Regions from separate parts of the Homo sapiens genome. Here region 1 is linked to region 2. The links are contacts of gene promoters, found by promoter capture Hi-C in blood cells and fetal thymus (Javierre and others, 2016). All regions are on one chromosome and are shown on one strand. The core of a region is centred on a gene start or on the middle of the fragment in contact, and the rest is flanking DNA. Distances in the headings are between cores, read along the strand shown. Region 1 overlaps SLC9A9 (solute carrier family 9 member A9). Region 2 holds the start of CHST2 (carbohydrate sulfotransferase 2).

What was found. The method cuts DNA at HindIII sites, captures the fragments that hold promoters and counts their contacts. A CHiCAGO score of 5 or more calls a contact.
Region 1: a fragment that was not itself captured here is called in contact with the fragment with the promoter of CHST2 in region 2 in 1 of 17 cell types (fetal thymus); the score reaches 5.2 in fetal thymus.

Annotation. Positions count from the first base shown.
Region 1 is chr3:143,429,148-143,433,563 of GRCh38, forward strand. All of the region lies in intron 12 of SLC9A9 (solute carrier family 9 member A9), which reads right to left. Among named protein-coding and RNA genes, the nearest start is that of SLC9A9-AS1, 89 kb to the left of the region's middle. RefSeq lists an enhancer at 754-1,274. The HindIII fragment of the contact is 3,033 bases long and covers 1,085-4,117 here.
Region 2 is chr3:143,116,674-143,121,020 of GRCh38, forward strand. CHST2 (carbohydrate sulfotransferase 2) reads left to right here and starts at 3,098. Exons shown (of 2, transcript NM_004267.5): 1 at 3,098-3,868; 2 at 3,971-4,347. The coding sequence starts at 4,144. RefSeq lists enhancers at 2,154-2,655, 2,331-2,460, 2,656-3,155, 3,441-3,490, 3,814-4,347 and silencers at 2,921-3,210, 3,701-3,750, 3,781-3,830, 3,881-3,960, 4,021-4,220 and 1 more. The HindIII fragment of the contact is 4,891 bases long and covers 376-4,347 here.

The DNA.
Region 1 (4,416 bases), core at 1,351-3,850, 310 kb after region 2:
GCCCCATAAATATGCATAATTATGTATCAATTATAAATTAAAAAAGAAATTACCCCTCCCAGGAGAGCTTAGAGTAGATGAGAGCACTTGAAAATGTGTTACAAATATTTATTGTTAGTATAAATGGGACATTTAGCAGAGGAATTTCTTTAGGAACTGAATCAAATGGTAACTCAGGCAGCTATGGTAGGCTGTGAGGATGTTTGGATGAGGTATGGAGTAAGAGTCCAACTTGAGATGTCATAATAGGACTGTGTGAAAGCAGCTTTTGCCTGACAATAGGAAGAGAAAAGGAGGGGAGAAGGTAGAACAGATAAAAGGCAGAGCCTGGCGGAGTCTATTTGTAAGGAGCAGAGTGGAAAGAGAAGTCCATCCCTGCTACCTTTCTAACCACAGTTCAGGCAGTTCATTTTTACATACACTTAGTGAACCAGACATGTCTCTGCTCTCAGCAAGCCCACAGTCTAGTGGATGATACCAAGAGGCAGCTTCTCTCCATCACTCTGCACATCAGATACCTGCTTGCAGAGGTCTGAGAGGAGGGGAGTGCACACCCAGATGGAGATCACCCCTCCAGAGGGGGAGGCTGAGTGTGTGTGGAGTCCTAGTCCTCAGAGCGTGTGTAGGATGAGGCTTCTGCATCAATGCCACGCATGACAGCAGCTAAGCGCTAGTAATACCAGAAGTCAGTACACAGTCAAGTTGTGTTCTCTCACTTGGCCATATAGACCAGGAGAGCAAGGAGGGCCTTAGAGGTCATATCTTTCAAATTTGTTACTTTACAGATGAAGAAACTGAAGCCCAAAAGATGTACTGATTCACTGGATCATGAATGGCAGAGCTAGAAACTGAAACCAGCCACTCTGGTGCCCTGCCCATTCCAAGTTTAGGTTCAAGCCACAGCGGCTTGACAGCTATTAGAATAAGAATGCATCTAGGGGAGAGGGCATTTTCAGTCTTATCAGTTGTTTACACTTCAAAGTTAATGACTTCATCAGAACCTTTTGGAGAACAGATTTGGAAAGAGGGTGAAGAGAGATAGGCACCTGGGATCAAGGAAAACAGGTTGTGACCACCAAAGTCAAGCTTTGCTGACTCCCAGTGGGGCTCATTAATGCACAGCCACAAGTTCTGACCCCATCCCCCAGCCTGTGTGTCTTAATGCTTTATCACTTGGAAGGGGAGGATAGAAACCTCTTTTGACAAAACAGAAGTGACTGCCAGAGTCCCAAGGAAATTCTGAGGGTTACATACACTCACACACACCTTTCTCTTATGGAGAGGCAGATTCCATTGCTGGCATAGGGCCTGGTCCCTACTGTTGAATCAGTGATGTTCACAGGCATGCAGGAAAGGCGGGACTTGGAGGCCCTAGCTAGTCTACCTGGGGCCCTGTGGAAGGGGCAGGGCAGTGATAGCCATAGTGGAGAGTGGGTGCTTCAGCAGCTGTTCTTTTGCTGAGCCCAGATCTGAGAGGGGGAGGCCAATGAAGCTGCATGTGGCCCTCTGGGGGAAGCATCATCTTCACTCACATTGGATAGATTTAAGAATTTGTGTTGGCACTGTTGGTTAGCTGACATACACCATATCCACCACCCTTTCAGCTGAGCCACCTTCCAGGTGGGCATGGTCACGTGACCCAGTTGGGCTAGGCAGACTCAAGCTGAAGTCTGTTGGGTAGGGTTTCTAGGAGATTTGCTTTCCCAATTTAAAAAAGGGAGAGCTAGATTCACCTGACATGCTGCTCTCTTCCTTTTTCCTTCCCACAACATGGATACACAGCAGCACTCTTTAGAACCAGCACAAGCCATTACAACAAGGATGACAAAAAGAGCCTCATCACTGATTTTATCCACTAGTTTTGGACTGCTTCCTCTAGGTTTCCTAATACATGAGAAAAATAAGAACCTATTTGTTTAGGCCACATAGTTGGGCATTTTCTTGGCTTTATAAAAGGCATCAGTCCTGGTGGTACTCAAGGCCTTTCACAGTCTGGTGCCCCTAAATCTTTCTCATCTCACCTCCTGCCATCTGCCTTCCTTCTCTAAGTCCCTTTCCTTCAATTCACAAGTCACAGCCCTGGGAAGCCTTCCCTGGAAGAACTAGTTGCACACAGTGCTTTGAGCTCCAGCTTCGTTTATGCCACTATAGCACATAGAACCATGAATTATTTGTTGATTTTCCCAGATTCCTGCAGTCATCTCTTAATTCAACTCTCAGCCCCTACCTTTGCCTCCCTGTAGAATACAGTGTATTCTCAAGACAGCAGAGGAGTTCTTTCAAATTGCCAGTTAGATCACATCCCTTGTTGCGAAATCCTCCAGTAGCTGCCCCCACCTTTTTTTTTTTTTTTGCGATGGAGTCTCGCTCTGTCACCCAGGCTGGAGTACAGTGGTGCAATCTTGGCTCCCTGCAAGCTCCGCCTCCCAGGTTCAGGCCATTCTCCTGCCTCAGCCTCCTGAGTGGCTGGACTACAGGCACCCGCCACCATGCCCGGCTAATTTTTTGTATTTTTAATAGATATGGGGTTTTACCGTGTTAGCCAGGATGGTCTTGATCTCCCGACCTCGTGACCCAATTCTTAAAGTGAAAGGCCGAGTCCTTACAATGGCTTATAAGGCCCTGTATGATCTTCCCACCCCTCTTACTTCTCTAAACTCAGCCCCTCCTACTCTCCTACATGCTCACCCTTCAGCCTCACTGGCCCACTTGATGTTCCTCCAATTTGCCAGGTACATCTCACCTTACAGTCTTTGCATAAGCTATTGCCACTGCTAAAATGCTCTTCCTCCTCCCAGTCTTTACTCAAGAGATAACTTCTCAGTGAGGCCTACTTGGACTACCTAATTCAAATCACAGCCCAATCCCATCCCTATAACCCAGCCTCCATTCTCTCTTCCTCTGCTCAATTTTTTTTTCTGTACCACTTATCACCTGATATACTATATAATTTGCCCATTTGTTAAGCTAATTTCTCACGGCTTATTTTCTCTTGCCAAAATGAAAACACCCTGAGCACAGGCATTTTTGTTTATTTCAAATGCTCAGAACAGTGCTTGGCACACATGTATTTGTTAAGTGTGTGAATAAATTGATTTGTATAAGATGACTACACACCGGGTAATTACTATGTTCTAAACTCTCTCAGCTCCTGATGATGTATGTAGTGGGAACAGGCCCTGGAAAGGTTCTCAGTGCAGTAAACTCTTTGCCCATTCCAGTTACCTCAACTAGACTAGGCTCATTAATAGGCACAGGGCAAGTATTATCAAATACAGGAAAAATGAGAACTGCAACACTGATTTCTGAAAAACTATCTCATTACAATCACATTCCTACTTCATGCAGAAAAGGAAAACTGGAACAGTTCCAGGGTTTGGAGAGCTTTACCGAGAAAAGGTTGTTAAAACAAGCAGGCTGCCCTGGAATCAGTATTTGAAGGGCTCTCTTCCCCCTAGAATGGTGGCCACCTGGCTGATCTTGCCCACATTATTTTTTTGAGACGGAGTCTCATTCTGTTGCCAGGCTGGAGTGCAGTGGCGTGATCTTGGCTCACTGCAACCTCCGCCTCCCAGGTTCAAGCGATTCTCCTGCCTCAGACTCCCAAGTAGCTCGGACTACAGGTATATACCCCCACACCCGGCTAATTTTTGTATTTTTAGTAGAGATAGGGTTTCACCATGTTAGCTAGGATGGTCTTGATCTCCTGACCTCATGATCCCCCCACCTTGGCCTTCCAAAGTGCTGGGATTACAGGCATAAGCTACTGCGCCTGGCCTCTTGCCTGCATTTTATTCCAACTGAAGGCATTTCTTACCTTTGGACTCAAAACATGCTCTGATTAGACCAGCAGCACCAATCAGCCCTGGTGGTGTTTCAAAGAACTTTCCTTCCTTTGAACTTAACAGTGAAAGGGAGGTTAGCCTTAACAATGAAAGGTTATTTAGATATATCTTTTTGGCCAACCCTTTTATGCAAATCTAACTGCACTTGATGACAGAAATCAATCTTGATAAGTTTGCTCTTGATTTCATGGAAGGGTGGACAGTTCATGTAACAAAGTTTTCTTTAGTTTCCTGACGTGTTTCAGGGCAATAAGAAATCCTATCGACTTTGAAGCTTTTTAAAAGAGATGGTTGCTGGGTTCTTTGGGGGGAATTTATCCCACAAACAGCATGAAGATTTATTTTCATTCAAAAAATTGTGATTTTTTTGTGTGTTTTGACTCTGCTTATCTCTTCAGTGGAAAAGTACTTTGTAACTGATAAGCACTTCAGCAGATCAAGGAGATTCATTACCCTGGCAGTTTTTCATTTTCAGATAGAAATGAGTAGAAATTATCCAATTTCTCTTTTTATAATAACGTCCAATACATTTAGTGTTCAATTTCACACTGTCCCTTGATTTATAGCATTT
Region 2 (4,347 bases), core at 1,848-4,347:
AACATAGGACATTTAAAAGGGCCACTTGGACTAACAATGGCAGCATATCTTAAATCAAGGATTATGAGTAACCTGAATCTATAATCTCAAGTTCTATTGAAAATGCATATTTGTTCAAAATATGAGGGAGTGAATCTATCTTGGTGCCCAGGGGCAAACATTTTCCAAAGGTGAATCTTCTAGGATTCACACAGATAGGCCCAAATGGGAACTGTTCAGGTAACCCAGCCTTGCATCTTTCCCCAGTTCAGACTCTGGAAGAAAGTCCTTGAAGATCTCTGGACATTTGTCCAGGATTAAGCAAAAGCCACAGCAAGTTTCTTTCACTCGCATCAGTGTGAAGAGACCACCAAACAGGCTTTGTGTGAGCAATAAAGCTTTTTAATCACCTGGGTGCAGGCGGGCTGAGTCCGAAAAGAGAGTCAGTGAAGGGAGATAGGCGTGGGGCCGTTTTATAGGATTTGGGCAGGTAAAGGAAAATTACAGTCAAAGGGGGTTGTTCTCTGGTGGGCAGGTGTGGAGGGGGGGATCACAAGGTGCTCAGTGGGGGAGCTTTTTGAGCCAGGATGAGCCAGGAGAAGGAATTTCACAAGGTAATGTCATCAGTTAAGGCAGGACCTGCCATTTTCACTTCTTTTGTAGTGGAATGTCATCAGTTAAGGCAAGGACCAGCCATCTGGATGTGTACATGCAGGTCACAGGGGATATGATGGCTTAGCTTTGGCTCAGAGGCCTGACAGTTTCCAATAGAACATAACAGGCAGCAGAGAAGACAGAGACTGAAAGAGCATCCTGGGGGAGATGGAATTGTGACAAACTAAACCAGTGAGCCGAAATTAAGGCTAGCCCTGTGGCATGACTGGCTCTTGTGCAAGTGACATTATTATGTGACATATTATATGTCTGGGTCATTACTATGCTAAAATAAGTAGATTAAAATGAAAGGAATTTCCAAACAAATGCGGGAAGGAAGGCATTATGAAGTTTTCAGATGTCATTAGCTATAACAAAGTTCAGAATTAATCATGACACCATGCAAAATGGGAAAAATTTGCAAGCAAGGAGAGGGTGGAGATGCCAGAACCCGTAAATTTATGCCAGCTGAGCACTGTGGGGGCACCTGGCAAATGGATTTACTATTTTGCCAACACCAGTAAAGTGTTACAAAATTGCAAACGGAATTATTTCTATGCAAACAATTGTTTTTAAAAAGGGTCCCTACATCGACTAATGCAATTCAGTTTTTTTCTGGGTAAGCACAAAGCCAGAAACTAAATGAAAAATATTAGAAATTATTTTTCTTGGAATCATGTTGAATATTAAAATTGAGATTTACTTTCCTCCCCAATTCCCTCTCTCTCCCATCAGTCTTTTCATGCACCAATGTCATTTTAGTTTTCGTGGTAAAAGAGGTGGTGAAAAAGGGGCAGGGGCATTTGAGAGAGTAGGCGAAGGGAGGCTGGGGATTCCAGAAAAGGAAAAGATGGGGAGTCGCTCAATTAAACTCTACCACCTTCATCTGTTAACAGGGATTCTTGCCTGTCTCGACCCACTTCCAGAGGCAATGCCATATTATTTGAGAAAGCTGGATATAAAATTTGAGCTCTGCTGTCCTTGTCCCAATCCCCCTCCCCAGGAGAAAAAATAAGCTGAACTGTACTCGTGACATTATGGGTTTTTCTGGAAAACAAGGATAAATAAGTTTTTTGAACATTTTTCTCCCCTGAAACTAAATCCGTAAGAGAGTTAAAAACCCGTGGAAAGCGAGTTAAGTCACTTTTCAAGTCTTTGTACTCAGGGGATTCTGTAAGACTCATGGAAGAATAATGGCGCAAACAGCAATATTTTAATGTTAGAACGGTCCTCTGAAAAGTCTGCCCGAAACGCTACAAAGATAATTGTGCAGTAACTTCTAAAAACTCTACTGGGACAGGAGGCAACAAAACTCCGGATCAGCGAGAGCTCTGTTTATCCGAGGGTGCTGAGCCTCAGGCCCCACGGAGATTCCCTTTTCGGCACTTGGAGGCCTGAACTCAGGTCTAACCTTTCGTGTGCGCGCTCTGATACTCAACCACCGTTCAGTCTCCGGAGGCTGTTACAACTGTCCCCATTCTACAGATGAAGTTGAGGCTACAGCTTAGTGTTCTTGGGGAGGGAGGGAGTTGGGGGGAGAGAGAGACGCTTTTCCTCATAACCTTAAACAAAAGTACTTAAACCTAAAGCAACTGAAAAATGATTTTCTTTCAACAACGGTGTTTCCTTTGGGGTCAAGTTCTTTGATCTCATCTACAAAACCAAGAAGCGGGACAAGTATTTTTCTGCAAATTAGAACGGGGCGTTCCCCTCCCCCATCACCCCAATTCCAGAGGACGTCAATCACAGTGGACGCAGCACCGCGAGCGGAAATGCGGAGAGCATCGGGGCTCCGCATGTGGGGCACAATGAAACAAGAGCAGCCCCGGCCAGAGGTCCAGTAAAGCGGAAAGACGGTCCCGCCCGCACACCCCTCCGGAAAACTGAAGCGTCTCCTCTGACCCCCAAGGTCAGAAAGATTTATTACTTCCTTCGAGAGGGCGCAGCCACAGACCCACTAGAGAGGGCGGGCAGGGTGTCGGAAGCCAGAGAACGGCGCTCCGCGTCCTCCCACCGCTCCAGGGCGCAGAGGTGTCCTCAGTGCCCGGAGAGGTTGGCAGTGTCGGCCCCGAGGGAAGCGTGGAGCGGACGGCCGACAGGGGATTTCTGCCCAAACTTCATCACCAACTCTTTCTGAGAGCAAAAACATGGGGCCGAGTCCGGCAGCTGCACGCAGAATCCAACTCTCTGGCAGCTCTCGGCACCGACGAGCTCCAGATCCCGCGTTCGCATCCCGGCGCTTTGCGCGCAGAGCTAAGCCTTCGGACCCGTGGACTGCAGCCCCCGCGCGTCGCGGTAAAGCGGGTCGCGTCTCCAGCCCCCGAGGCGCAGCGACGGTGGGAGCCGGCTCGGCGTTGGGGGCGGGGGCGGGGCCGGCGAAGGGGGAGGGCTGCGCGGCGGAGGGGAGGAGCCGCGGCGACAGACGGCGGCGCGCACCAACCGGGCGCCGGCTGGCAGGAGCCGCGCAGAGGCTGGTCCGAGCGCGTTGCGGGCGCCCGGCGTAAGGGGAGTCGGGTAGCAGCATCCTCCTGGGCGCCGCTTTCGCGCGGCGGCGGCGGCTGCGGCGGGGTCTTTCTTTGCTTAAATACCTCGTTGGCCAGAAGCGCTGGTACCGGGGGCGGGTTGGGTCGGGTCGGGCAGTGCTGCACACCTGGGTTTCCTTGCCTAGAGCTGTGTGTTCGGGGTCCTTTGGTCCAGTCGGAGGCTGCGGAGCGGCGGGGGTTGCCTGCGCTGTCCGCCCGGGCATCCTCCCGGTGATGGAAGCAGCCGCCGCCGCCGCTGCGGGGTCGCGCTGTGCCCCATCCACCGCTGCCAGAGAGGTGGGAAAATTCGCCGCACGGAGGCCGAAAGCGAGAGGGGCTGCGCCGCTATGCCGGGAGCTGAGTCCCATATAAGCCGCCCCCAGCCATCGCCCCCAGCCGGCTTCGTTCCCCTGAGCGAGACAGGAAGCTGCGGTCCCGAGAAAGCGGAGGAGACGTCGCTGGAGCCGGGAGGCGCCGGGTTCGGCGGAGCGCGGAGCGGGGCTCTGGGCCGCGTGAAAGTTTTTCTTCCCGAGCCGCAGGGCGCCCGCTGCCCGGAAACTGCCCAGGGATAAGTCGGCCGACTCCCCAGACCCCTCGAAGGTGCGGGGACCCCCAGCGGAAGCGAGAGGGAGCGAAATCGAGGAACGAGTGACAGCCGGACAGTCCGCCGGGCGGTGATCCGGGGCCGCTCCCGGGCGCGCCCTCGGCTCCAGGTGAGCGGAGGAACCGGGCAGAACCGAGGGTGGGCGTTACTTAGGAGGAGGAGGCTGGGAGGGAGATTGGGGCGCATCCGCTCACTCCGCTTCCCCTCGCAGGTCCTACCCGGAGCCGCTGCCATGGGAGAGCCAGCCTTGGGCGCTGGGGACCAGCCGCCGCGCCCGCCTCGGAGTCGCGGCCCGAGTCCCGGCGCCAGCAGCCAGCCCGCTGCGTCCCCTTCCCGGGCTGCAGGGCTGCCTCCGCCGCGCCGCCGGCCCGGATTGTGCCTGTGATGAGCCGCAGCCCGCAGCGAGCTCTGCCCCCGGGCGCGCTCCCTCGGCTGCTCCAGGCTGCGCCTGCAGCCGCGCCGCGTGCCCTGCTCCCGCAGTGGCCCCGGCGCCCAGGACGCCGCTGGCCCGCGTCCCCTCTCGGAATGAAGGTGTTCCGTAGGAAGGCGCTGGTGTTGTGCGCGGGCTATGCACTGCTGCTGGTGCTC